Regions from separate parts of the Homo sapiens genome. Here all the other regions are linked to region 4. The links are contacts of gene promoters, found by promoter capture Hi-C in blood cells and fetal thymus (Javierre and others, 2016). All regions are on one chromosome and are shown on one strand. Each heading gives the region's core, a stretch centred on a gene start or on the middle of the fragment in contact. The rest is flanking DNA. Distances are from core to core; before and after follow the strand shown. Region 1 holds the start of LOC124902941 (a long non-coding RNA gene). Region 2 holds the start of PA2G4 (proliferation-associated 2G4). Region 3 overlaps RNF41 (ring finger protein 41). Region 4 holds the start of METTL1 (methyltransferase 1, tRNA methylguanosine). Region 5 holds the start of RAB5B (RAB5B, member RAS oncogene family). Region 6 holds the start of TIMELESS (timeless circadian regulator). Region 7 overlaps SARNP (SAP domain containing ribonucleoprotein).

The links. The method cuts DNA at HindIII sites, captures the fragments that hold promoters and counts their contacts. A CHiCAGO score of 5 or more calls a contact.
Region 1: a fragment that was not itself captured here is called in contact with the fragment with the promoter of METTL1 in region 4 in 1 of 17 cell types (monocytes); the score reaches 8.3 in monocytes.
Region 2: the fragment with the promoter of PA2G4 here is called in contact with the fragment with the promoter of METTL1 in region 4 in 1 of 17 cell types (monocytes); the score reaches 5.5 in monocytes.
Region 3: a fragment that was not itself captured here is called in contact with the fragment with the promoter of METTL1 in region 4 in 1 of 17 cell types (monocytes); the score reaches 7.8 in monocytes.
Region 5: a fragment that was not itself captured here is called in contact with the fragment with the promoter of METTL1 in region 4 in 1 of 17 cell types (monocytes); the score reaches 6.6 in monocytes.
Region 6: a contact is called between a fragment that was not itself captured here and the fragment with the promoter of METTL1 in region 4, in 1 of 17 cell types (monocytes). The highest score is 5.1, in monocytes.
Region 7: a contact is called between a fragment that was not itself captured here and the fragment with the promoter of METTL1 in region 4, in 1 of 17 cell types (monocytes). The highest score is 7.8, in monocytes.

Annotation. Positions count from the first base shown.
Region 1 is chr12:55,921,045-55,924,529 of GRCh38, reverse strand. The region is part of intron 1 of PYM1 (PYM1 exon junction complex associated factor); the gene reads left to right. LOC124902941 (a long non-coding RNA gene) reads left to right here and starts at 759. Exons shown (of 2, transcript XR_007063325.1): 1 at 759-1,089. The HindIII fragment of the contact is 7,726 bases long and covers 1-3,485 here.
Region 2 is chr12:56,102,188-56,106,081 of GRCh38, reverse strand. PA2G4 (proliferation-associated 2G4) reads right to left here and starts at 1,523. Exons shown (of 13, transcript NM_006191.3): 1 at 1,257-1,523. The coding sequence starts at 1,344. It overlaps ERBB3 (erb-b2 receptor tyrosine kinase 3), which reads right to left. Exons shown (of 28, transcript NM_001982.4): 28 at 2,577-3,894. It overlaps LOC105369782 (a long non-coding RNA gene), which reads left to right and starts at 1,663. Exons shown (of 2, transcript XR_944995.4): 1 at 1,663-1,794; 2 at 2,164-2,268. RefSeq lists enhancers at 1,249-1,468, 1,479-1,828. The HindIII fragment of the contact is 2,269 bases long and covers 460-2,728 here.
Region 3 is chr12:56,217,091-56,220,471 of GRCh38, reverse strand. All of the region lies in intron 1 of RNF41 (ring finger protein 41), which reads left to right. Among named protein-coding and RNA genes, the nearest start is that of RNF41, 3.1 kb to the left of the region's middle. The HindIII fragment of the contact is 4,486 bases long and covers 1-3,381 here.
Region 4 is chr12:57,769,940-57,773,377 of GRCh38, reverse strand. It overlaps METTL1 (methyltransferase 1, tRNA methylguanosine), which reads left to right and starts at 1,273. Exons shown (of 6, transcript NM_005371.6): 1 at 1,273-1,404; 2 at 2,121-2,284; 3 at 3,422-3,438. The coding sequence starts at 1,295. EEF1AKMT3 (EEF1A lysine methyltransferase 3) reads right to left here and starts at 764. Exons shown (of 3, transcript NM_015433.3): 1 at 477-764; 2 at 250-361. The coding sequence starts at 653. RefSeq lists enhancers at 600-1,109, 1,240-1,529, 1,215-2,414. The HindIII fragment of the contact is 5,954 bases long and covers 1-3,438 here.
Region 5 is chr12:55,973,820-55,977,297 of GRCh38, reverse strand. RAB5B (RAB5B, member RAS oncogene family) reads right to left here and starts at 3,220. Exons shown (of 6, transcript NM_002868.4): 1 at 3,159-3,220. RefSeq lists an enhancer at 3,327-3,476. The HindIII fragment of the contact is 469 bases long and covers 1,947-2,415 here.
Region 6 is chr12:56,448,854-56,452,681 of GRCh38, reverse strand. TIMELESS (timeless circadian regulator) reads left to right here and starts at 3,256. Exons shown (of 29, transcript NM_003920.5): 1 at 3,256-3,372. MIP (major intrinsic protein of lens fiber) reads left to right here. Exons shown (of 4, transcript NM_012064.4): 4 at 1,217-3,180. The coding sequence ends at 1,402. RefSeq lists enhancers at 3,513-3,602, 3,713-3,828. The HindIII fragment of the contact is 1,480 bases long and covers 1,435-2,914 here.
Region 7 is chr12:55,813,689-55,817,174 of GRCh38, reverse strand. The region is part of intron 1 of SARNP (SAP domain containing ribonucleoprotein); the gene reads left to right. Among named protein-coding and RNA genes, the nearest start is that of SARNP, 2.3 kb to the left of the region's middle. The HindIII fragment of the contact is 3,247 bases long and covers 599-3,486 here.

The sequences.
Region 1 (3,485 bases), core at 499-2,998, 1.8 Mb after region 4:
CCTTTTTCTTCACAGCCAGATTTTGTTTGTTTCTTTCTTTTTTTAAAAATGAAGCGATGCAGACTTGCTATGTTGCCCAGGCTGGTTTTGAACTCCTGGCCTTAAGTGATCTTCCCACCTCAGTCTGCCAAAATGTTGGGATTACAGGTGTGAGCATGCACCTGGCCCCAGATTTCTCGAATATGAAGAAATCTCCTGATATTTCTGTTTCCTTGCTGCCTATTTGTTCTTAACTCTTTGCAGTCATTATTTCTAGCACTACCCTCTCTCGAGTTGCCTATGCCTTTTTCTAATTGTTTCGTGAATATCTTCACTCTTGGATATACTGTTATACCTCAAATCCAACCTGACCAAAACCAGTATCAGTTTTTCCATCACTATTTCTGTTAAAGGCACCATTATTCTAGCCAACCCAAGGTAAACTTTTGTATCGTTTCTTTTTTTTTTTTTCTTTGAGACAGAGTCTCACTCTGTCGCCCAGGCTGGAGTGCAGTAGCGCGATCTCGGCTCACTGCAACCTCCGCCTCCCTGGTTCAAGTGATTCTTCTGCCTCAGCCTCCTGAGTAGCTGGGATTACAGGCACATGTCACCACGCTTGGCTAATTTTTGTATTGTTAGTAGAGACAGGGTTTCATCATATTGGTCAGGTTGGCCTCGAACTCCTGACCTCGTGATCTGCCAGCCTTGGCCTCCCAAAGTGCTGGGATTACAGGCATGAGTCACCACGCCTAGCCATTTCTTTTTTTAATATTCTAAATATACTTGATTTTTTAGAACACTTTTAGATTTATAGAAAAATTGAGAAGATGCTACAGAGATTTCCCATATACCCTACACTCAGTTTCCCCATTACTGTCATCTTACGTTAATATAGTACTTTGCTTGCAATTAATGAAGCAATATTGATATATTACTATTAACTAGAATCCATACATCATTTCATTAGTTTTGTTTTTTTTTTTTTTCAGACAGGGTCTTGCTCTGTCACCCAGGCTGGAGTGCAGTGGTGCAATCACCATTTACTGTAGTCTTAACTTCTGGGCTCAAGTGATCCTCACATCTCAACCTACTGAGTAGCTGGGACTACAGGTACACACCACCACGCCTGGCTAATTTTTGTATTTTTTGTAGAAATGCGGTCTTGCTCTGTTGCCCAGTCTGATCTCAAATTCCTGGGCTCAAGCAATCCTCACGCCCTGGCCTCCCAAAGTGCTAGAATTACAGGTGTGAACCACCATGCCTGGCTGATTTCCTTAGTTTTTACTTAATTTATTTTTATATTTATTTATTTATTACTATTTTTTTGAGACGGAGTTCTGCTCTTGTTGCCCAGGCTGGAGTGCAATGGTGAGATCTCAGCTCACCGCAACCTCTGCCTCCCGGGTTCAAGTGATTCTCCTGCCTCAGCCTCCTGGGTAGCTGGGATTACAGGCATGTGCCACCATGCCCGGCTAATTTTGTATTTTTAGTAGAGATGGGTTTCTCCATGTTGGTCAGGTTGGTCTCAAACTCCTGACCTCGGGTGATCTGCCCACCTCGGCCTCCCAAAGTGCTGGGATTACAGGTGTGAGCCACTGCGCCCAGCCTTTTTACCTAATTTTTTTTTGTTGTTCCAGGATCTTATCCAGGGTACTACATAACATTTAGTTCTCATGTCTCTTTAAGCTCCTCTTGGCTGTGACATTTTCTCAGGCTTTCCTTGTTTTCCATGACCTTGAGTTTTGAGGAGTACTGGTCAGGTATTTTGTAGGATATCCTTCTATTGGAATTTGTCTGATGTATTTCTCATGATTAGATTTGGGTTATGTGTTTTGGGGAGGAAGACCACAGAGGTAAAGTGACATTTTCATCACATTGTATCAGGGTACATAGTATCACAATGATTTTTTACTGTTAATATTTTTGTTTTTTTGAGACAGGGTCTTCCCTCTGTTGCCCAGACTGGAGTGCGGTGATGCCATCATGGCTCACTGAAATCTTGACCTCCCAGTCTCAATTGATCCTCCCACCTCAGCCTCCTGAGTATCTAGGACCACAGGCGTGTGCTATCATGACCAGCTAATTTTTTTTTTTTTTTTTTTTTTGGTAAAGATGGTCTCACTATGTTGCCTGGGCTGGTCTTGAACTCCTGAGCTCAAGGTATTGTTCCCCTTTGGCCTACCAAAATTCTGGGATTACTAGGCATGAGTCACTATGCCCAGCCTGTTAGTATTGACCGTGATCATCTGGCAGAGATATTGTTTGTAAGGCTTCACTGTAAAGTTAGGCTTTACCCCCTTCCTTTCCATACTGTAGGGAAGTCACTATTGCCAGCCCACGCATAAGGAGTAGAGAGTTGTGCTCTCCTTAAAAAAAGAGATTAAGGGCTGGGCATGGTGGCATATGCCTGTAATCCCAGCACTTTGGGAGGCTGAGGCTGGAGGATTGCTTGAGGCCATCCTAAGCAACATAGCAAGACCTCTTATCTACAAAAAGATTTAAAAAAAAAACGAGCTGGGTAAGGTGGCACACACCTGTGGTCCCAGCTACTCAGGGAGCCTCAGAGGGGAAGATTGAGCCAGGGAGGCTGAGGCTGCATTGAGCCGTGATTGTGCCACTGTACTCCATCCTCAGTGAGAGGCTGTCTCAAAAAACAATTAAAAAAACACACTATTTGGCATTTTTCTGCCCAGGAGATTTTTTTCTTTTCCTTTATTAATTTATGTATATCAATATGGACTTATAGATGTGTATTTTATATGTTAGGTTATAATCCAATACTATTTTATTTGCTTTATTGCTCAAATGTTCCAGTTTTGAACATTGGGAACTCTTTTAGTTTTTTACTTGGCCCATCTCCCTTTGACATTTGCCATCATTGCAGGTATGATTTTGTTCTCTGCTCCAGTCCTGCGGTCTGCCATTTCTCCAAGAAGCCCTTGTTCTTTTTACTAAAGAGTAATGTTAAAAACTAAGATCTGATCACTAGGTGTTTTTATTTCTATGGGAGTATTTTTTTTTATTTATGGGAGTTTTATTTTTTTATGATTATTTTTATTATCATCTTTTACTTCTCTCTTGCCCTCCTCATGTATATCAGTTATCAAAATATCATTCTTTTATTCCTACTGCTGTTACCCTTATCCCATCTACAGTACTTGTTAGCTATATAGCCTTGGGAATCTAAGTCTTAGTTTTCTCATCAATGAAATTGGAATAACTCCTGCAACACAGGATTATTATGCGTATTAAAATTTAAATAAAGTAATTTACATGTTTGGCACATAAAAAGTGTCCAACACATTGTTCTATAATTATTACTATTATGTAAGGGTCATTGTATGGGTTAGAAGAAATTACTATATATGGCCAAGTACCAGGCATAGTACTTGGGCCATTCCAAGTGCCTGCTAAAATTCTAGTTTCTGTTGTTCTGCAAATATTACTGTGACCTCCTAAACTGGTCATCGTATTTCCAGTCCCTCTCTTGTTTCATTTCTACAGAT
Region 2 (3,894 bases), core at 274-2,773, 1.7 Mb after region 4:
GGCTTATCTAAAAGAAATATGAGGCCAAAGTTATAAACTGTAAGAGATTTTCTGATTCAAACCACTAGTATCTCAAATACTAAAAGGCACCAAAAACCAGGGTACGATACTAAATGTCCACTGTGATATAAAGCACAGGTTTGACTTTTGGTATCTCAGTTTTGGTGATTCTTTGAAAGCTGGTAAAACTCAGATTTTCACCCACAGGACGGGAGGCATCCTAAATACCTGTTCCCCACCATCTTTGCTGTTAAAACCATTTAAAAGCACAATGACAAGCAGTTTGTATCTCCCTAACTGGAATAAAATGGAAAGGCTAACTGGAAAGAGAGAAAAGAGAAAGTGGCATCTGCCTAGAGTGACAGGCAACTGCTGAGATCGTCAGAGCACACCTGGAGTAAGGATGACTTGTGAAAATCCTAAAATCAGTCCTCCCTTTTCCAGTAATGTTCACAAGCTTGCCTAGTTGGGATAAGACGGAGACCCCAAAACATTTGAGTTGTCAAGTCACTGAGAACAACAAATGTGAATGCTAACTAAGACTATCTGCACAGATTGGAAAGGTGGTAGTAATGAGTAACTTCAAGAAAAGCCATATATATCTCCAAGACTTGCATTAGAAGCTCCAGGAGTGCTCTCCAACGGTCTCCTTAGCTGGCCCAAGGTAGAAGGGGGCCCCCACCAGGGTAAGAGCTGAAGTAAAGAAGGAAAGGCTCCAGCAAAGCACGTGGTGGGGAAGCTGGTGGTGGGGAAGCTGGTGTCAGGGACACTAGCGGAGTAAGAAGGGGGCCAGCCATCCGCAATGGGACCCAGCAACACGTGCCGGCTTGGCTCCTGACGCCCCGGAGACGCTACAAAAACAGAGGGGCACTTCTGTCGCCAATAGCTGGGCGCTTCCTTTTCGAGGTGGCCTCGCCGCTGCCAGAATCAGAGGAAGCAATAATCGGGAATGAAGGATAGGAACAAGAGAAAACACGTCTTGCCTCCTAACAAACGGCCTCGGGTCGGAGCCTGCCAGGGTCCCCTCTCTGCGCTCATCCTGGTCGCCGACCCGCACCTCCATAGACTTCAGCCTGGGCCTGCCCGCTCAGGTCCCAGGCGCGACACCGGGTCTTCCCACCACGCCGTGCCCAGCGGACCGGTGCGGGCCCCTCAGTAGCTCAGTCCGCATGACCCCTCCGCTCCAGCCCCTTCCGGGCCAGCCTGTTACCTTTCCCTATCAGCCTTGATTCCCCGACCCCCGAGGCCGCACTCACTGTTGGCGATGTCGCCCCCCATCTTATACTTGGTCACGACCAGGTCCTCAGCGATAGTTTGCTCCTGTTGCTCGTCCTCGCCCGACATCTTCCTACTACCACCACTGCAGCCTCGTTTCCCCTGAGCCGCCGCCGCCTCTGTCTCCCTTCCCAGCCACAGGCTGTGGTCAGAGTCCCCTCGATCCTCGAGGAGAGGGCGAGCGAAAGCGCGAGCAAGCAAGGGAGCGGGCAGGCAGGCGAGAGCGAGAAGCTGCGAGCGCGCGGGCTGAGGCGCAGGGCACGCTGGGACAACTAGTCCTCTCGGCCGCCAGACTCTAGCCGCTCTCGAGGGCCTTCGAACTACAATTCCCAGCCTGCCTCTCGCGCTCCTAAGCCAGGCCCTGGGGCCTTGCCCTCCAAGGGCCTCGCACGCCGGAATCGCCGGGCACTCTGGGAAGGGTCAGGCTCCGGCGGGAAGGCGGAGCCGTTGGGGAGCTTGAGGGGAAGCGTGGTCTCTCCCGGAAAAACCACTTCCACCGAGAACGCTGAGCGAGAGCCAGTAACAGAGAGGGGCGGGCTGAGGGGAGAGGGGCGGAGCTACGGCGGGGAAATAGGTTTAAAGTCGAGCGGGCAGGGGTGGAGTAGAGTGGAGCCGCAGCGGGTGGGCAGTGTCTACACCTAGGTCGGGGAGGCTGGGTGCGCCCTTCTTCGGATCCCTGGGTCGGCTGGCGAAACCCGCCCAGCCGGTCCAGTCGTCCTCCGAAGCTGGGAGAACAGGGAGGGGCAGACAGGTGGAAGAAGACCAAGGGTGCTGGTAACGGGGGCTAACTGGGCAGCCAGACACCGGAGGGATCATCCATTTAAAGGCCTCGCAATCTAGAGGCCGGACTCCTAATGAAGTAACATGACTTTATTGTTCCAATAACAGGCACCTGGATGGAGCACCTAAGGGAAGTGTTCAGAAAGACATGTTTGTTGAGAGTTCTTACCGTGAAAAAATAAAAAGATTTGATGACTTTTCTAAGATAATGAATTCAGAAGCATCTGGAGGTTTCAGTGTTTGGCCTCTGAAGGAGGGCTTATAGGGCTTTTTATAAGTCCTAAAGCACGTAGGTTCTTTTTGTTATTCCCAATTGGTTGCCTTGTAGATTCCTACTAAAACCCTTAATGAAAAGGACTATGCGCTATGGTTGTTCTAAAGAAATAGAAGTAATAGTAGGACTAGAGAAAGCTGCATGGGACAGAGTAGCACTGTCAGAACACAGAAAGGTGAGTATCCACTGCTGAGGAGCAGATCTCTTATCTAACATACGAAATGTCTTCATTTGACAGACAGGAAGCTGAAAAAAAACTTTGGCATTTTTATTCAGACACGTATAAAAACAAAACAAAAAACTTCAGTGATACAACAGACGTTTTCCCTTAGTTCCCCATCCAAGGGGACAGAGGTGTGCAGCTGAAGCTGGATCTTTTTTCTGTCCTACCTGGAAGCTTCTCACTGCTGGATGAGAATGGCTTCTAAAAGTGGATCTTGGGGATCCTTGTGAATTTGCCCTCGGATAAGGAGTGAAGATCATTTACGGCACATGTGGATTATGGTTTACACAAAGATGTCCAGTTATTTTTCCTTCTGACTACCCCCACCACCACTTCCTGAGATGAGATGTCTAGGTATAGGAGGATGTGGCTGTTGGGGTTAGACTTGATTCAGTGCAAAAACAAGAAACAGTGCCCCTTAAACAAGGGCTGTAACTTAAATCAGTTTTTCTTGGCACCTTACAATAAGAGCACATGCACAGGAATTGGGAGGATTTTGCATCCTGGATCTACTGCTTAATTTATTTCATCTCTTTAAGGCTCAGTTTCTTTTTTTTTTTTCCCCTGTAGAGACAGTGTCTTGCTATGTTTCCATAGGCTTATCTCTAATTCTGGGCTCAAGTGATCTTCCCATCTCAGCCTCCCAAAGTGCTGGCTGGGATTACAGGCATGAGCCACTGCACCCAGTTCTAAAGTTTTTTTTTTTTTTTTTTTTTTTTTTTTAAAGAGATGGGGGTCTTACTATGTTGGCTAAGCTGGTCTCAAACTCCTTGCCTCAGGTAATCCTTCTGCCTCAGCCTCCCAAAGTGCTGAGATTACAGGCATGAGCCACCATGCCCGACTTCCCTTTGTGTAAAATGAGATAATATGTATGTCACAGAATTGTTTTAAGGATGATAAAGGACTAAGTGAGATAATGTAGGTGAAGTTTAGTATGATGCCTGGCTCATAGTTAAGTGCTGAATTATGATAGTAATCAATATCTACTCCTAACCTCTTTCTTCACAGATTTTAAGCTTCTGTCTTTCTAGGGGGTTAAGAGTCATAAACCAAAATTACACTTTCCTCTGCTAGGTTTCCTCCCTTTCCTCTTCTTGACAGTCTGATGGGAAACAAAGGCACACATAAGAGCCTAGTTCCAAGTAGTCAAGAGCCTGAGAGGAAGGGATATGGAGAGTAATCCTTCATATCTCCAGGAGTGCCTGTGAAGAAGCTGAGGAATGGGACTGGGAAAGCACACAAAATAAGGAAAACCTTTCCTGGGGTTGGGAAAGAGAAGAAAGTGCACAGCTGGCTACATACCATAAGAATTTTGTGTCAAAATGTTTAAAAGCCTCCAAAG
Region 3 (3,381 bases), core at 664-3,163, 1.6 Mb after region 4:
GACGAGGCGGGCGGATTGCCTGAGCTCAAAAGTTCGAGACCAGCCTGGGCAACACAGTGAAACCCCGTCTCTACTAAAAATATAAAAAATTAGCCGGGGCATGGCTGCATGCACCTGTAGTCCCAGCTACTTGGGAAGCTGAGGCAGGAGAATTGCTTGAACCCAGGAGGCAGAGGTTGCAGTGAGCTGAGATTCCACCACTGAACTCCAACCTGGGCAACAGAGTGAGACTCTGTCTCCCCACACCCCCCGCCAAAAAAAACAAAACAAAACCCTGACCTCAGGTGATTGGTCCATCTCGGCTTCCCAAAGTGCTAGGATTACAGGCATGAGCCACTGCACCCAGCCTTATTTTGTATTCTGTTGCTACAAATAATCTTACTTGAGGATAACAGTATTCAGTATCCTTTCATATTTATTTATTTATTTATTTATTTATTTATTTATTTATTTTTGAGACAGGGTCTCACTCTGTCACCCAGGCCGGAGTGCGGTGCTGCGATCTCTGCTCACTGCAACCTCTGCCTCCTCGGCTCAGTTGACCTTCCCCCTTCAGCCTCCTCAGTAGCCGGGACTACAGGCACTCACGCCATCATGCCCGGCTAATTTTTGTATTTTTTGTAGAGACAAGGTTTCACTATGTTGCCCAGGCTGGTCTCAAACTCTTGGACTCAGGTGATCCACTCACTTCGGCCTCCCAAAGTGCTGGGATTACGGGTGTGAGCCACTGCGTCCAGCCTCCTTTCGTATTTATTATTTCATTTGATTTGCAGACAGTATGTATAAGGGGTGCGCGCGTGTATATACACATATATACACACACACACATATATACACCTTATATTACGCCGGGCGCAGTGGCTCACGCCTGTAATCCCAGCACTTTGGGAGGCCAAAGGTGGTGGATCATATGAGGCCAGTTTGAGACCAGCCTGGCCAACATGTTGAAACCCTGTCTCTACTAAAATATAAAAATTGGCTGGGCGCGGTGGCTCACGCCTGTAATCCCAGCACTTTGGGAGGCCGAGGCAGGCAGATCACGAGGTCAGGAGATCAAGATCATCCTGGCTAACGTGGTGAAACCCTGTCTCTACTAAAAATAAAAAAAAAAAATTAGCTGGGCGTCCTGGCGGGCGCCTGTAGTCCCAGCTACTTGGGAGGCTGGGGCAGGAGAATGGTGTGAACCTGGGAGGCGGAACTTGTAGTGAGCCGAGATCGCATCACTGCACTCCAGCCTGGGTGACAGAGCCAGACTCCGTCTCAAAAAAAAAATAAATAAATAAATAAATAAAATAAAAATTAGCCTGGCATGGTGACACATGCCTGTGATCCCAGCTACTCAGGAGGCTGAGGCAGGAGAATTGTTTGAACCTGGGAAGTGGAGGTTGGAGTGAGCTGAGGAGATTGCATCACTGCACTCCATCCTGAGCGACAGAGGAAGACTCCATCTCAAAAAAAAAAAGAAAAATAGGCCAAGCATGGTGGCTCACGCCTATAATCCCAGCACTTTGGGAGGCCGAGGCGGGCGGATCACAAGGTCAGGAGATTGAGACCATCCTGGCCAACATGGTGAAACCCCGTCTCTACTAAAAATACAAAAATTAGCTCAGCATGGTGGCACATGCCTGTAGTCCCAGCTACTTGGGAGGATGAGGCAGGAGAATCGCTTGAACCCGGGAGGCAGAGGTTGCAGTGAGCCAAGATCGTGCCACTGTACTCCAGCCTGGCGACAGAGCAACACTTTGTCTCAAAAAAAAAATAACATATATATATATAATAAATATGTATATATTATATATACCTTATATTAATATATAAGGCAGGTATCATTTTCCCTACTTGACAGTTGAAGCAACAGAAAAACTACAGCAGGGTTACTTGACTTGTTTAAATGTGTAGATTTGGGGGTGGGCGCAGTGGCTGGTGCCTGTAATCCCAGCACTTCGGGAGGCTGAGGTGGGAGGATTGCTGGAGCCTGCCCAGGAGTTCAAGACCAGCCTGGGCAACATGGCAAAACCCCATCTCTACCAAAAATACAAAAATTAGCCAGGCATGGTGGTGTGTGCCTGTGGTCCCAGCTATTTGGGAGACTGAGGTGGGAGGATTGCTGGAGCCTGCTGGGAAGGCGAGGCTGTAGTGAGCTATGATCATGCCACTGTACTCCAGCCTGGGCAATAGAGCAAGACCCTATCTCAAAAAAATAATAATAATTTATGTGGGCCAGGCGCGGTGGCTCACACTTGTAATCCCAGCATTTTGGGAGGCTGAGGCGGGTGGATCACCTGAGGTCAGGAGTTCGAGACCAGCCTGGCCAACATGGTGAAACCCCGTCTCTACTAAAAATACAAAAATTAGCCGGGCATGGTGGTGGGTGCCTGTAATCCTAGCTACTCTGGAGGCTGAGGTAGGAGAATCACTTGAACTCGGGAGGCCAAGGCTTCAGTGAGCCAAGATCGCGCCATTGCACTCTAGCCTAGGTGACAGAGCGAGACTCTATCTCGAAATAATAATAATAATTTATGTGAAAGCACTTTGGAAACATTAAAGCAGCATCCCCAGCCTTTTTGTGGAAGATAGTTTTTCCACAGATGGTGGGCGAGGGGATGGTTTTGTGATGGAACTCTACCACCTCAGATCATCAGGCATTAGATTCTCATAGGGAGTGGGCAACCTAGATCCCTCGCATGGGCAGTTCACAATAGGGTTCATGCTCCAATGAGAATCAAATGCCGCTGCTGATCTGACAGGACATGGAGCACAGGCCTTAATGCTCGCTTGTTTCCTGCTCACCTCCTGCTGTACGACCCGGTTCCTGATAGGCCACAGTCTGGTACTGGTCCATCTGGGGATTTGGGGACCTCTGCATTAAAGCATCATCCTGTACACATAATGTATTATGGATCTATGCATTTTGCTTTTTTTTTGAGTCAGAGTCTTGCTCTGTCGCCTAGGCTGGAGTGCAGTGGCGCGATCTTGGCTCACTGCAACCTCCGCCTCCTGGGTTCAAGCAATTCTCCCTGCCTCAGCCTCCTGAGTAGCTGGGATTACAGGCATCTGCCACCATACCCGGCTAATTTTTATATTTTTAGTAGAGATGGGGTTTCGCCATGTTGGCCAGGCTCATCTCCGACTCCTGACCTCAGGTGATCCACCCGCCTCGGCCTCCCAAAGTGCTGGGATCACAGGCGTGAGCCATCGCAACCTGGATCTATGCATTTTGTAGTCACAGATTTGGAATCATTATTACTGGTAGTTATGTGCACTGAATAAAAGAATCTTAAATCTCCAACAACTCCTCTACTTTTCCTCTTGTCTTTTTTTTTTTTTTTTTTAAGACGGAGTCTTGCTGTGTCGCCCAGGCTGGAGTGCGGTGGCGCGGTC
Region 4 (3,438 bases), core at 24-2,523:
TGCCTGAGTTTTATTTCCTGCCCTCCCCAATCACCCACCCTAGGTGCTTTGACAGGCAATTCGCGCTGTCTGGCACGCAGAAGCAGACGCCAAAATAAAAACAAAAACAAATTTTAAAAAAAAATTTGTTAAAAAGAAGGGGTTAGACTGGGCCCAAAGTTCTCCCCTCTCCCCCAAAGATCCACGAAGTGACCATTTCTCCGCGCCCCTGGGTCCCCACTCTCTCCCGTAAAAAGCCAGCTCACGCACCCTGCAGCGCTGCCAAGATCCCCACGATGCCTGTCCCCGCACCCAGTTCGATCACCTTCTTGCCTCGGAAATCCACATTTTGACTCTCGAAATAATTGCACAGGCTCAGGGCCTACGGGAGAAAAGACAGAGAAAAAGACAGTCGTGAGGATGGCTCCATATGGGAGAGGCGGAGTCCGGGATCTGGACCTCCCACGGACCCTCACCCGGCGCAGCCCATTCCTCACCGCGTCCCACACGCGCGCCGCCACCCCGAGGCGGGACCCAAAGTTCTGCGTGATGGTCAGCACATGCCCACAGAAACAGAACTGGCTCTTCTCCGAGTAAGAGTCTGCAAAGAGCCCGACCTCCCGCGGGAACACCGATTCCGACTCAGATTCGGGATCTGGGCCGGGGTCCGCCATCCGGCCCGCCAAGGGAGTGCCTGGGCACCGCGGCCGGCGCTCAGATCCCGGATCCGGAGCGGGGTAGAGGCTGGGGGCCGCGAGCCGTCGTGGTGTCCCTGTGGAACGAGCCCCGCCTCCCTGAGTTTGCCCTCCTTCCTCCAGTTCGATTTCCTGGAGGTGGAATGAGGAGCTGCCCCTCCCGCCCCGGCCCCGAGCGCACACTCGACGAAACCCACACGGGACCACAAGAGTCAGACCGGGCGGACTGGTCCGAGACCAGGAGTAAGGGGACAGGAGCGAGGACTGATGCCACTGTAGAAGGCGAGGTCTCTAGACCCCTCTCACCTGTGGGGTGCACAGGTGCCTGCAACCAGGATGGTAACCCAGACCAGGCAGAAGCAAGCTAAGAGAAAACGTTGGGTCCCTGGGCCTGGCCTCGCCCTCCCAGTTGGAGGCTAACGGTGCGGAGGTTCCCTCCAGCACTCGCTCCTTACAGCCCTCCCCACCTAGCCCAGCCCAGCCCAGCCCAGCCCAGCTGAATTTGCTCTTGGGTCTTTAAGGGGCGGGAACTGCCACCAACGCGCATGGCTGCGTCATTAACTTGCGCCTCTGGCCTGCGCCTCCACGTGGATTTGGTAGAGAAACCCCGGACTGGGATCATGGCAGCCGAGACTCGGAACGTGGCCGGAGCAGAGGCCCCACCGCCCCAGAAGCGCTACTACCGGCAACGTGCTCACTCCAACCCCATGGCGGACCACACGCTGCGCTAGTGAGGAGTGGGCAGAGGGAGAGAGAGGAGGGCGGGATTCTCAAAGCAGCCGGGAGAGCAGTTGTGCTGCAACTGCTGGGAGGATTTGGGGTAGACCCGGGAGGATCAGATGGGTGACGTCAGTTTTTGGGGGTGGGACCGGGAGATTCGACCGAGAGAGGAGTTGGCGGGTTGAGAGTGGGCGTGGCGTTCGGGCCTAAGTCTGGGTAGCGGTGCTAAGTTTGGGAAGAGAAATAAATTGTTACTGAGACTGAAGTGATAGAGGCAGAATGTCGTTTCCATCTTTTGCTTTTGTTTGTTGGATTTAATAAAAAGGCAAACATATACACAATCCTGCCCGCACCTTACCTTACCTTCCCTCCCCGCAGAGCACAAACACAAAGTAGGATCCCAGTGCATTAGGCAGCCAGTCTCGGGAGAAGGGGAACTTGTGCCCCAGAAAGGGCAGTTACCCGGCCAGGGTCACATCAACCGCCAGAAGTGGAGTTGGGCAGGTCAGCGTTTATGGGCCTCATGATGGTCCTATGATTCACACTGGGAGTTAAGGGTGGTTTCCATTGTCCCTCTTAGAGGCCACAGGGCCCAGTGTTACAGAATTTTTGAGAAACCCTCCTCCCTTTTACCTCCCACCCTCACCCACCCACACACTCTCACAGTACCACTTCTGCAATGGTGTGACCAACCTTCTCATGCTTCTTATGTCTTCTTTCCAATAGCCCTGTGAAGCCAGAGGAGATGGACTGGTCTGAGCTATACCCAGAGTTCTTCGCTCCACTCACTCAAAATCAGAGCCACGATGACCCAAAGGATAAGAAAGAAAAGAGAGCTCAGGCCCAAGTGGAGTTTGCAGACATAGGCTGTGGCTATGGTGGCCTGTTAGGTAACACTCAGGCCCTCTTTTTGGGGTGAGAAGAGGCCTAGTAGCTTCTGCTGCCTCAGCAACTTTTGTGGGGGGTCATAATTGGCCTTTCCCCTTTCGTCCAGACACTGGTGACATCAGCATGGAGAGGCTCCACCTACCCTCTACTCTGGGTCTGTGACCTTTGCCCTGGAGAGTGGAGGGGGCTGCCTCAAATGCTTCTTAAAACCTGGGTTGTCCTTTCTGGCGTCAATCCCTACATGAGCCATTTCATCTGCCAGGTTCCGGGTCAGTGAGCTGGTCAGCACAAGCATCAGAGATTAGCCGTTGTGGCCAGTGATCCTGAACTGTCTTTTCTCAGAGATTCTACCATCTCCCCTCCCCTTTGCCCCTCCCTCGCCAGATCTCATTCCTTCTGCCCCACTCTCCTGTTTTTTGGGTTCCTCTTGTATTGTCTGTATTGTCCCACCCATGCATGCCAAGCCACTCCCTATTTTTAGATCTTCCCAAACAGATAACAGCCTGATAGAGAAGAAGAGCATGGTACATAGAGGCAGAAAACCTTGGTTTAAGGTCCAGTTCTGCCTGGGCACAGTGGCTCACACCTGTAATCCCAACACTTTGGGAGGCTGAGGCAGGTGGACCACTTGAGGCCAGGAGTTCAAGACCAGCTACTCAGGAGGCTGAGGCAGGAGAATTACTTGAACCTGGGAGGCAGAGATTGCAGTGAGCCAAGATTGTGCCACTGCACTCCAGCCTGGGTGACAGAGCAAGACTCCATCTCAAATAAATAAGTTCCAGTTCTGCCCCTTCTTAACTCTATGATCTTCGGCATATCTGACCCTCAGTTTCCTTATCTTCACAATTTACCACAGAGTGTTATAAGGATGAAATAACACAATGTGTGAAAACACTGTGGAAAACTCTAAAGCAATGGCAAATATACATGTATCCTCAGCCCTCCCATTCTGGTCCTGGTGACAATTTTCATTTCTCCCCCCGCCTCTTGAGCATAAAACTATCCATATATGTATCTCTGTCCTCTCTTGCCGTTCTGGACTTTGGTAGTTGCAGGTTGAGGCTTCCTTTCCTGTGTTGACCCCTTTGCACTTCCTACAAGTATATGGTTGATGATTCCATTGCTATTTCTGTGTGCAGTGGAACTGTCACCGCTG
Region 5 (3,478 bases), core at 932-3,431, 1.8 Mb after region 4:
CACACACACACACACGCACACACGGCCAGGCGCGGTGGCTCACTCCTGTAATCCCAGTGCTTTGGGAGGCTGAGGCACGTGGATCACCTGAGGTCAGGAGTTAGAGTCCAGCCTGGCCAACATGGTCAAATCCCGTCTCTACTAATAATACAAAAATTAGCTGGTCGTGGTGGTGCACGCCTGTAATCCCAGCTACTCTGGAGGCTGAGGCAGGAGAATCGCGTGAACCTAGGAGGCAGACGTTGCAGTGAGCCGAGATCATGCCACTGCACTCCAGCCTGGGTGACAAAAGTGAAACTCCGTCTAAAAACACACACACATACTCCTACACAACTGTCTCTAGGACTGGCTTGCAGGTGAGAAAAGTTCCTTGGGGGAAAAAACCGAGGTTTCCAATGGGCGCTGTACAAAGGCTGGGTACAACAGAGGGCTTTTAAAGCTAGTAAGGACAAATTCAATTAATAAGGTGGTAGTATGAAATGCCCCAGCTGTACTCTGACTCTGAGATTTAGAGGAAAACCGATTTCAAATCCAGATAAGCTTGGAGCTTCTCAGATCCCTACAGAAAGACACACACTGTACTCCAGCCTAAGTGACAAAGCAAGACCCTGTCTCTAAAAATAGAAGAAAAGAAAAGAAAGACAAATACAGGGGCCTCTTAGGAGAACCATCATCATCATGGATAAGAAAGGGATAGTCAAGTAATGTGAACATGCAGAGACCATGAACATCCAGAGACCATGAATTTGAGATAAGGGTCTGAAATTCCTTTCTTTAGCAGAGATGCCAACAATTATCCCAACCAAAATGATCCTTTCTCCCCATAAAGTTTTGTTCCATCTCTTTGGGCACTTCCTAGGACACCCAGCACACAACTTGGGGTGTGTGTGTTTGTGTGTACTCAAGGTGAATAACACACAGTACAGCCCTCTGCTTGTCGGACTTGGTAGAAGACAAAATGAACTGTGAAAGGAACACAATAAATAACAGAGTATCATCCCAGAAGGGAAAACTGTAGAAAGAATAAGACTAGAGTTTGATGAGAACATGAAAACACAATTGCCTTTTGTGACACATCCCCCAAAGCAAAGCAAGATTAGTCTGATTTGCTGTCTCTGATCCTTGACCTTCCTAAATGAAATATGAATAAGGTATGTGTGGGAGGATTTATACTTCTTAAACTGCTGTACACCTTCCATATTTTAAAATATGTACATATTAACTTTTGTAATTAAGAAATGTAGTGATGGCCGGGTGTGGTGGCTCACGCCTGTAATCCCAGCACTTTGGGAGGCCGAGGTGGGCGGATCATGAGGTCAAGAGATTGAGACCATCCTGGCCAACATGGTAAAACCCTGTCTCTACTAAAAATACAAAAATTAGCTGGGCGTGGTGGCGCACGCCTGTAGTCCCAGCTACTTGGGAGGCTGAGGCAGGAGAATCTCTTGAACCTGGGAGGTGGAGGTTGCAGTGAGACTCCGTCTCAAAAAAAAAAAAAAAAAAAAAAGAAATGTAGTGATAAAATATATTGGTAGAGACGCAGAAAAGGAGGAAGTACAGTAAGGGAAAATCCAATAGGCTCCAATCTATGAGGGACTAAGAAGGCTAGCAGACCATTAAAAATATGTGGGGAGGAGGGTACTCCACTCCTCTGCTTTGGCAATCTTTGTCTTTTTTTTTTTTGGAGACAGGGTCTCATTCTGTTGCCCAGGCTGGAGTGCAGTGGGAAGATCATGGCTCACTGCACCCTCGAACTCCCGGGCTCAAGTGATCCTCCTGTCTCAGCCTCCCAAAGTGCTGGGATTACAGGCGTGGGCTACTGCACCTCTGTATCTTTTTCTCTACTCACCATCTTCCCCAGATACTTCATAGTTTGACCCAACTTTCTAACAGCACAGAAATCTGGGCTTTTGAAGTAGACAAAGAACAAGGGGTGATGCCAAGCTTTTGAAATGGAATTTCTCACTCTTCCCCAAATCTCTTCCTCAGTGATATCACCGCATAGTTTCGGACCTGTTAACTCCATTACCTGCCTGGGAAATACCCAAGTCAAGTCTAAGTCCCACAAAAGTTTCACCAACTATGATCAGAAGATCTCCTGATGGCTGAGGATCTCTAAGCCCCTTTCCCATGTAGATAATGAAATAGATATGAAATAGATTCTCAGTTCTAGGAGACATGGTATTTGCTATAGACCACATTATTAAGTGGGAAAGAAGTGGACAAAACATGCCCCCAATCCAACTTCTTAGCTCTTTCATAGGACATGAAACAGTAAGTTAAGAAACAGACTGCAGTATAGACCAGCTATGAGGCCAACAGAAAGTGTAGGGGCTGAGTTTGGAGCAGCCAACAGTCATGGAAAAAAAAAAATTACTTTGATCTTCATCCCTACCCTGGGAGTTTTAAAAAGCTTCAAATTACCACATCTAAACACTAAAGGGAACAAAAGAGTGTGTACTCCCAAGACCCAGAGCCCCCAGCCCACCCTTCAGCATTCCCAGAAGTTCCCATAACTGATACCAGGCCCTGCTTCCATTACTTCAACTACCTTAGTCTTCTAGATTAATACAGCCTTCTTCATTTTCCCCAGTTCTCCCTCACTGAACCCAAATCTCTCTCAGCTCAACACCATAGCACCCTCAGTTCTTTTTACAATAGGCACTTTCCCTGAAAAGAACGCTTCTTACCCAACTAAGAACCCTTCTCAGGCCCTTCCAATGAACCTCTCTGCAGGGACCCAGCCCCAGTCACCCCCGGGGCTCGGGCGACAGGTCTGACCCTCCTCACCTCCCGGCAAATGGGCTTACCTCACCCGCTGCCCTGTTCCTTTCCCCAGCTCCTCCCTCTTCAGCGCTGCTTAATGAGGCCTGCCCCTGCCCTCACTCAAGCTCCAGGCCTCCAGCCCCCGGCCCTCGGCCTGGCCGCCGCCACAGCCCAGCCGCCTTCCCGACTCACCAACTTCGGGGTCCCAGGCCGCCCAGTCCCCTCCTCAGCGACCCCCATTAGGCCTGCCGGGGCCCGGCCCCCTTCTCCCCTCTCCGGTGGGCCACTCTAACCCCTCGCTTAGGACCAGACCCGCCTCCGCTCTCAGGCCAGGCTGCTCTCATCTCCCGGGCGCTTCCGCCCCTGCCCTTTGGGCTCCATCAGCTCGGTACCTGGGGCTCCGTCTCCCCCGTCGGCCCCAAGCCTGTGTCGAACAGACAAACAGCTGCAGCTCAACCAAACCCTCCTGCCCCTCCTTCTCCTCCTCGCCCTGGGGCGGGGCTCCAGCCAATAGCTCGATTACCCGCCTACCTTCGAGGGTGGGCTATATGTGCACTCATCCACCAATCCTCTGGAGAAAGGCGAGTCTCTTTGGGCGCTGTCACCAACAAGTACGAGCAAGGGACGCGACAGGCGGGGCCACAAGCCAATAGCGAGGGAGAAACCTCGAAGATGGACGAGGTAAGGAGCCATTAAAGAGCAAGCTCCTGAA
Region 6 (3,828 bases), core at 925-3,424, 1.3 Mb after region 4:
GGCAAATAATCACTCTGTGCTTCAGTTTGTTTTACTATAAAATGGGACATTACGAGAAATGTGTGAAAGTTATATGTGAGAAACATTTAGCACAGAATCTGATATAAAGTAAGCACTCAATAAATATTGGTTATGTTGATGTTGTGCAAGCCAAACATATGGAAATAATTTAAAAATTTTTCAAAGCTGTACACCCATTTTCATAACAGCATTATTCACAATAGCCAAGAGGTAAAAGCAACCCAAGTGTTCCTCAGTGGATGAATGGATAAACAAAATGTGGTATATACATAAATGGAATATTACCTGTAAAAAGGAAGGAAATTGTGACACATACCACAACATGGATGAATCTTGAGGACATTATGCTAAGTGAATAAGCCAGTCACAAAAAGACAAATACTGTATGATTACATTTATATGGGGTATTTAGAGTACTCAAATTCACAGACGCAAAGTAGAAGGATAGTTACCAGGGGCTGATGGGGGTGGGGTGGAATAGGCAGTTGTTTAATGGGTATAGAGTTACAGCTTTGCAAGATGAAAAAGTTCTAGACATAGGTTGCACAACAATGTGAATATACTTAACACTACTAAACTGTACACTTAAAAACATATATATATTTTTTTGAGATGGAGTCTCCCTCTGTCACCCAGGCTGGAGTGCAGTGGAGCTTGATCTCAGGATCTCAGCTCACTGCAACCTCCGCCTCCTGGGTTCAAGCAATTCTCCTGCCTCAGCCTCCTGAGTAGCTGGGATTTCAGGCGCCTGCCACCACGCCCAGCTACTTTTTGTATTTTTAGTAGAGATGGGGTTTCTCCCTGTTGGTCAGGCTGTTCTCAAATGGCTGACCTTGTGATCCGCCCGTCTTGTGATCCGCCCGTCTCAGCCTCCCAAAGTGCTGGGATTACAGGCATAAGCCACTGCGCCTGTCCAAAAATATTTAATATGGTAAATTTTATATGTGTTTTACCACAATGTATAAAATTTTTTTGAAAGCAACATACAAACTAGTGCAAATTGATAACAAATAGAATATACACATGCTAAGGTGTGGGATAAAGGAGTAATTTGATGAATCAGAAAATAAATGGTGAGTTTATTGTAGATATCAAGTGTACAATATCTTGTTTTCCACTAAGGTGGCTGGAAAAAGAGCAGCGTTGCTACTCTGTCCCCTCCCCAAGCCTGAGTATTCCTTTTCTCTTTCTACAGGTGTACTGGGTAGGCCCAATCATTGGAGGGGGTCTGGGCAGCCTCCTGTACGACTTTCTTCTCTTCCCCCGGCTCAAGAGTATTTCTGAGAGACTGTCTGTCCTCAAGGGTGCCAAACCCGATGTCTCCAATGGACAACCAGAGGTCACAGGGGAACCTGTTGAACTGAACACCCAGGCCCTGTAGAAGCTCCAGCTGAATAGAGGGAGTAGAAAGCTTCTGAGTTTACGTGGAGGGGTTTAGCCAGCCCCTAGATGAAGAAAGAGACTGTGGGGAGGGTCATGTACTTCTTTATTTTTTAACTTATGTATGTGGTTGTTTTTTTTTTTTTTTTCCTTTTGCTGTGTGAAATCTTTCAAGTTGCATTCATGAGCTGGTTGGTGCAAACTTCCCTTCCTCCCCATCCCACCACCCTTCGCCGTGTGTGCTGATTGTGCATATGAATGTGAGTGTGGCTGTGTCTGAGTTTTGGGGCATGAGAGCTAAGGAAGCAAAAAGAGGTGCCATCCTATACCTCCCTTCCTCGACCCAGTATGGTGAGTACTGGGTAACCGACACCTTAAGTTTCTGGCCTTTACCCTGCTGCCAGTCAAGTGTGTGGCTCTTGATTTCTGAGGGAACAGAGAAGCAGGGAGTTACTCCTCACACGAGGCAGATGGAGAGAAGTGGAGGAGACAAGGCTTCCAAGGGTTAGGAGAAGGGACTCAAGGGAGGTGGGTGGTGAAAACGGAGTATTAGCCCCAGATCAGGATGTAGGTGTACCGAAGAATTGGGGGGAAGTTAATGGGAATATATAGCCTACTTATCTTAGGGATGCTTGCCCCAGGGACTTGGGTGGGGAAGTAGCTCTGAGAAAAGTGAACACTAGGATTTAGCTGTTCTGTAAAGCCACGTAAACCTGTCTACATCCGCTGGCTGGTTGTGTTCATTCTGACATAATGGATCTCTTCAGAGGTCCTGGGCCAAAGAGCTTCCAACCTAAATAGAGCTTGGGCAAGCCTAGAATCTAGAAAAATTAAGCAGCTTAACTGGTCAGCCTGACATCCACTGTTGTGGCTGCCTGGCAGATGGTATTTAAGCCCCACAATTGTTCCCTAAGGCCAACACAGGAAATCTGATTCCTGGAGCAAATAAATGAACGGGTGGTAGTAGGGGGCATGAGGGGAGAGGCTTTGACTCTGTTCTAATTTATTTAGAGCAAATCAAAACACTCCTCAAATGGCATCTTTCTGCTTTTATCACTAGTTCCGTGTTTTTTTTCTTGTTTTGTGTCTGTGTATTTTCATTTCTCTGTCATCCGTCCTTTCATCTTGAAGCAAATCTCTTCTAACTCCCTCATACCCCAGAAATTGATTCCTTCTATTCAAATGCTTAATAATTCAGGAGATTATTATTTGTTTGAGCCCTATCTTCTTTTTTTTTTTGAGAGGGGGTCTTACTATGTTGACCAGGTTGGAGTGCAATGGATATTCACAGGCACGATCATCGCACACTACAGTCTAGAAATCCTGGGCTCAAGCGATCTTCCTGCTTCAGCCTCCCCAGTAGCTGGGATTACAGGGGGCCAGAGCACAGCCCTATTTTCTTTTCCTTTTGGCAAGATCATCTCAGCAGAGGCCAGAAGAGACCCTCAACTGTTCAATGAATATTTACGGTTGCTTTCTTCCTTTTATGAGCCTCTTGCATACTTTGAAAGCTTTAAATTTATACCTATAATACAACGGACATCCCCTATCCCAGAAGACCATTCCTCCCTGTACTTCAGCTCTTTACTTCCTCCCAAATAAAACCTAACTTTTCTAACTAACTATTTAAGACTTGGAATAGTCCGCTTGACTAGAAGAAGGGGAAGAATGTTTGTAAATTCACCTCTAATCGGACTTTGATTCTACTATAATTCAGCAGAAAATTCATAGCGCTGTGATTTTTAGATCGACCTCACATAAAACAGTCCCTGCACTCGCTTCCCTTTTCCTTCCTTCTTCACCAATCTCCGCCCCAGTTCGCTCGGAGTCACGTGGACCAGCCCGGCTCGCCCCGCCTCGCTCTTCGCGCAGGCGGGGACCGGTCCAGCTGAGCCTGGTGGCGGAAAGGCTGCGGCCCCGCGCCAGAGGGCCGGTGGCTCCTCCGGGCTTCTGAGGACCCGCAGGGAGCGGGTGAGTGAGTGTGTGGCGAGAGGGCGCTAAGCGGACACGGGGATCCTTTCGAAGCTATGGGGGCATTCTCGGGAAACGCTGAGTCCCTTTTCCCGCCACCCGGTTTAGAGCCAGGGGGCGGGGCTCGTGCTGCAGGCGCGCACGCGCAATTCTGTACTCTGCTCCTTAGTCTCCCGCGCCGCGTTCCCGGGTCTCACCGGACGCGGGCTTAGCCCTACGCTGCTCCGCACAGCTTGGGTCTCCCGCGGGATGGGGTTGTGATGGAAAGGGGCTTGGAATTCCTGAATTAGAACAGAAAGTGCCTGAGGGAGTTCCACTTCGGAGCTTAGCATCTAGTTGAGACCTCCTGAAAAAAACCGGTGTGTGGCCTGGCGGTCAGCAGTGGTCGGAATTCACAGGCCGCTTTACTTATATCGTGGGTTTTATGGAACGGATTTCTCACTCCCTCCCTTCGTT
Region 7 (3,486 bases), core at 973-3,472, 2.0 Mb after region 4:
TCTAGGTGGGATTACGCCCCAAGCCGAATTTTGAAACAGGGAGAGGCCTCTCAGAAGATCGGTCTCGCCTTAGAAGCCTGGGGTTGAGGAGGTCTTGAGAATAGTAGAAGTACAGACACCTCAGATTTAAAAGTTTTCGAGTTCTGTCACGCGGCTCTCGGCCCGCCAGCCTTCCTCACACACCATCTCCAACCACCAGAGAGAACTCACACCTGCAATATTTGGGAAAAACAATTCCAAGGTTAAGATTATCTCTGTTCCATTTCATATCTCGGGTGGGCCCTGCATCTCCTGGTGTTACCATTGGCTGACACTGAATCACAGAAGCTATTTTAAATTGTCTTATGAGACTCTTGGTAGTTTTTTCACACTTAGATATATAAAAAAGTTAAAAAAATATATTAAAAAGAAGAACATTTTAAAAAGTATTTTCTTTTAGGGTAAATTAAGATATCTTGAGTAATTGTCTGTTTGTGGTTTCACAAGTAGTTTTCCCATTAGATGTTTTGGACAAACCAGGCTGATATAGCTGAAACTGAAAAGTGATCCTTTAAAGCTCGAAAAGTTTTTTTTTGTTTTTGTTGCTGTTAAGAAAGCTTAAGGGTAGTAAGGGTAGGGAGAGGACCCTTCTTTAGTCACTTATTAGTTGACCCCAATTAGTCTTTCTGTGAAACTGATGTTTTTCTTACTCTTGGATTCTAAACTCTGTTAGTGGGTTTTTGTGTTATTCTGGAGTTATTGTTAACTTGATGATACTGAAATGCATAGACTATATCAGCGGTCTCTTGATCTTTATTGTGATGAGTTAAAAAAAATTGAGCAATCATCTCCACTTTGTTTATATATACTGTACTTATAGAAATTGTATACTTCTGGACTGTTATAAAATATAACACAGAAAAGGAATTTTTGAATGAGATAAAAAGGAACTATATATAGAAGAGCTAATATTTTCTTCCTATTTGTCCTATTTTTGAAATCCCTGGAGTAAGTCACCAGCTGCCCGATGACTTACTTGCATTTATAGATTGTGTTGGTTTATGGAGTTCCTCCTTCCATCAAATCTGTATTTGTCAGGTCTATATAAAATTTGTATTTGATTGGATAAGTAACTTTTACGTAAAGTCCTCTGACCTGATTTCAGTGTTACAGTCTAAGAGAACATTAGGCACTCCTGACAGCCTAAAAAGGACTTGCTCTTTAATCACATTTGCTTGTCTTTGCTTTTTCTCTAGAGCACTTCTTAACCTTTTGGAGGTCACAGATATCTTTGAAACTCTGATGAAAGGTATGGACCCTCTCCCCAGAAAAAGGCATGTACACATATTTTGCATGCAGTTTGAGGGGCTTCATAAAACTACCTTGTAGCCCCGAGGAGTCCATGGACCTCTGGTTAAGAACTCATGCCTTTAGCTGGGCGTGGTGGCTCACGTCTGTAATCCTAGCACTTTGGGAGGCCTAGGCGGGCGGATTGCTTGAGGCCAGGAGTTCGAGACCAGCCTGGGCAACATGGCGAAACCCCGCCTCTACCAAAAATGCAAAAATTAGCCAGGTGTGGTGGCAAGTGCCTGTAGTCCCAGCTATTGAGGAGGCTGTGAGGAGGCTGAGGCACAAGAATCGCTTGAGCCCGGGTTGGAGGTTGCAGTGAGCCGAGATGGTGTACTGCACTCCAGCCTGGGGGACAGTGAGACTCCGTCTCAAAAAGAAAAAAAGAACTCATGCCTTTGATTCTGATTTTTAGGACAATTAATGTTTGGTTCCACTGGTGATCTTGATGCAATGATCCTGACTTCTGGGTTGACTTGGGGTTTTATTGCCTTAAAAAAAAATCTTGGCTGGGTGCAGTGACCCACACCTGTAATCCCAACTCTTTGGGAGGCGGAGGCCAGGAGTTTGAGACCAGCTTAGGTAACATAGTGAGACCCTGTCTCTACAAAAAAAATTAAAAAATTAGCTGGGCATGGTGGCACACACCTGTAGTCCCAGCTCCTCAGGAGGCTGAAGTGGGAGGATTGCTTGAGCCTGGGAGGCCAAGGCTGTGGTCAGCTGTGTGATAATTGCTCCACTGCACTTCAGCCTGGGTGACAAAGGGAGACCTTGTCTCAAAAAAAAGAAAATAAAAAAATCTCTCCATTGTCATAAAGAGAATTTTGGGCTTTGGTATGGAACCTCAGGGGAAGGGAATACCTTTTGAAGCAGGAAGGAAACATAGTATGTATCTGAGTTGATATGTAATGTCATATCAACAGCAAATTTCTGAGGATTTTGTAGAAATGCAGTCATTCTTTTTTTTTTTTTTTTAAATTGAGATGGAGTCTCGCTCTGTCGCCCAGGTTGGAGTGCAGTGGCAAGATCTCGGCTCGCTGCAACCTCCGCCTTCCAGGTTCAAGCAATTCCCGTGCCTCAGCTTCCCGAGTAGCTGGGATTACAGGCACGTGCCACCATGCCTGGCTAATTTTTGTATTTTTAGTAGAGATGGGGTTTCACCATGTTATTGGTCCGGCTGGACTTGACTGACCTCAGGTGATCCTCTTGCCTTGGCCTCCCAAAGTGCTGGGATTATAGGCATGAGCCACCACTCCTGGCCCATACTAACACATTTGGAAAGAGAGATTGAACTGTGGATGAAAATGGCTTGAACTGTAACAGTATCAGATATCCAGTCAAACATTAGAAAAGGAACTATTGCAGAGGAGAGGAGAAAGTGATAGTAGTGTCAGAGTGTTGAGAATAGTGAGACATTTGTATTGAAAAGTGAAGTGAGGAAATATATTGGTAGTTGAAGATAGTTTGGAAAGGAAAATAGGTAAACTATAAAGGTAAATCAGAGTGATATTGAAAAGGGCTTTCTAAGTTATGTAAGGACTTCTGGCCTTTGTCATGTAAGAAGTAGGGCTGGGAGCCTTTGGAAGTTTGAAAGGAGGAGCTTGATGTGATCAGCTTGTATTCTCTTGGCGGATGGGATTTGTAGGGGGAGCGATTTCACCACTTAGATATTTATTATAGGAGTCATTCCCCTGCTTAAAACCTTTAAATTATATCCCTGCCCGTCTCTCCAGCATAGTTACTAACTCTTCAACTACTGTGGCCTTATTTTATTTAATTTCTTCAGAATGCTTCATCAATTGCCAACACTTAGCATTTGTTATGTGGCAAAGCACTGTTTGAAGCCATTTACATACACTAACTGATTTAATTCTCATAATAACCCTGTAAGGTAAATACCTGTATTATCCTCATTTGAAAATAAGAAAAACCATAGCTCAGAGAGAGTAACTGAGTAACTTGCCTTAGGTTGCACAGCTAAAATGTTGTATATTAAATCCAAGCAGGCTGGGTGCAGTGGCTCACGCTTGTAATCCCAGTACTTTGGGAGGCCGAGGCAGGCGGATCACCTGAGGTCGAGAGTTCGAGACCAGCCTGACCAACATGGAGAAACCCCGTCACTATTAAAAATACAAAATTAGCTGGGCGTGATGGCACATG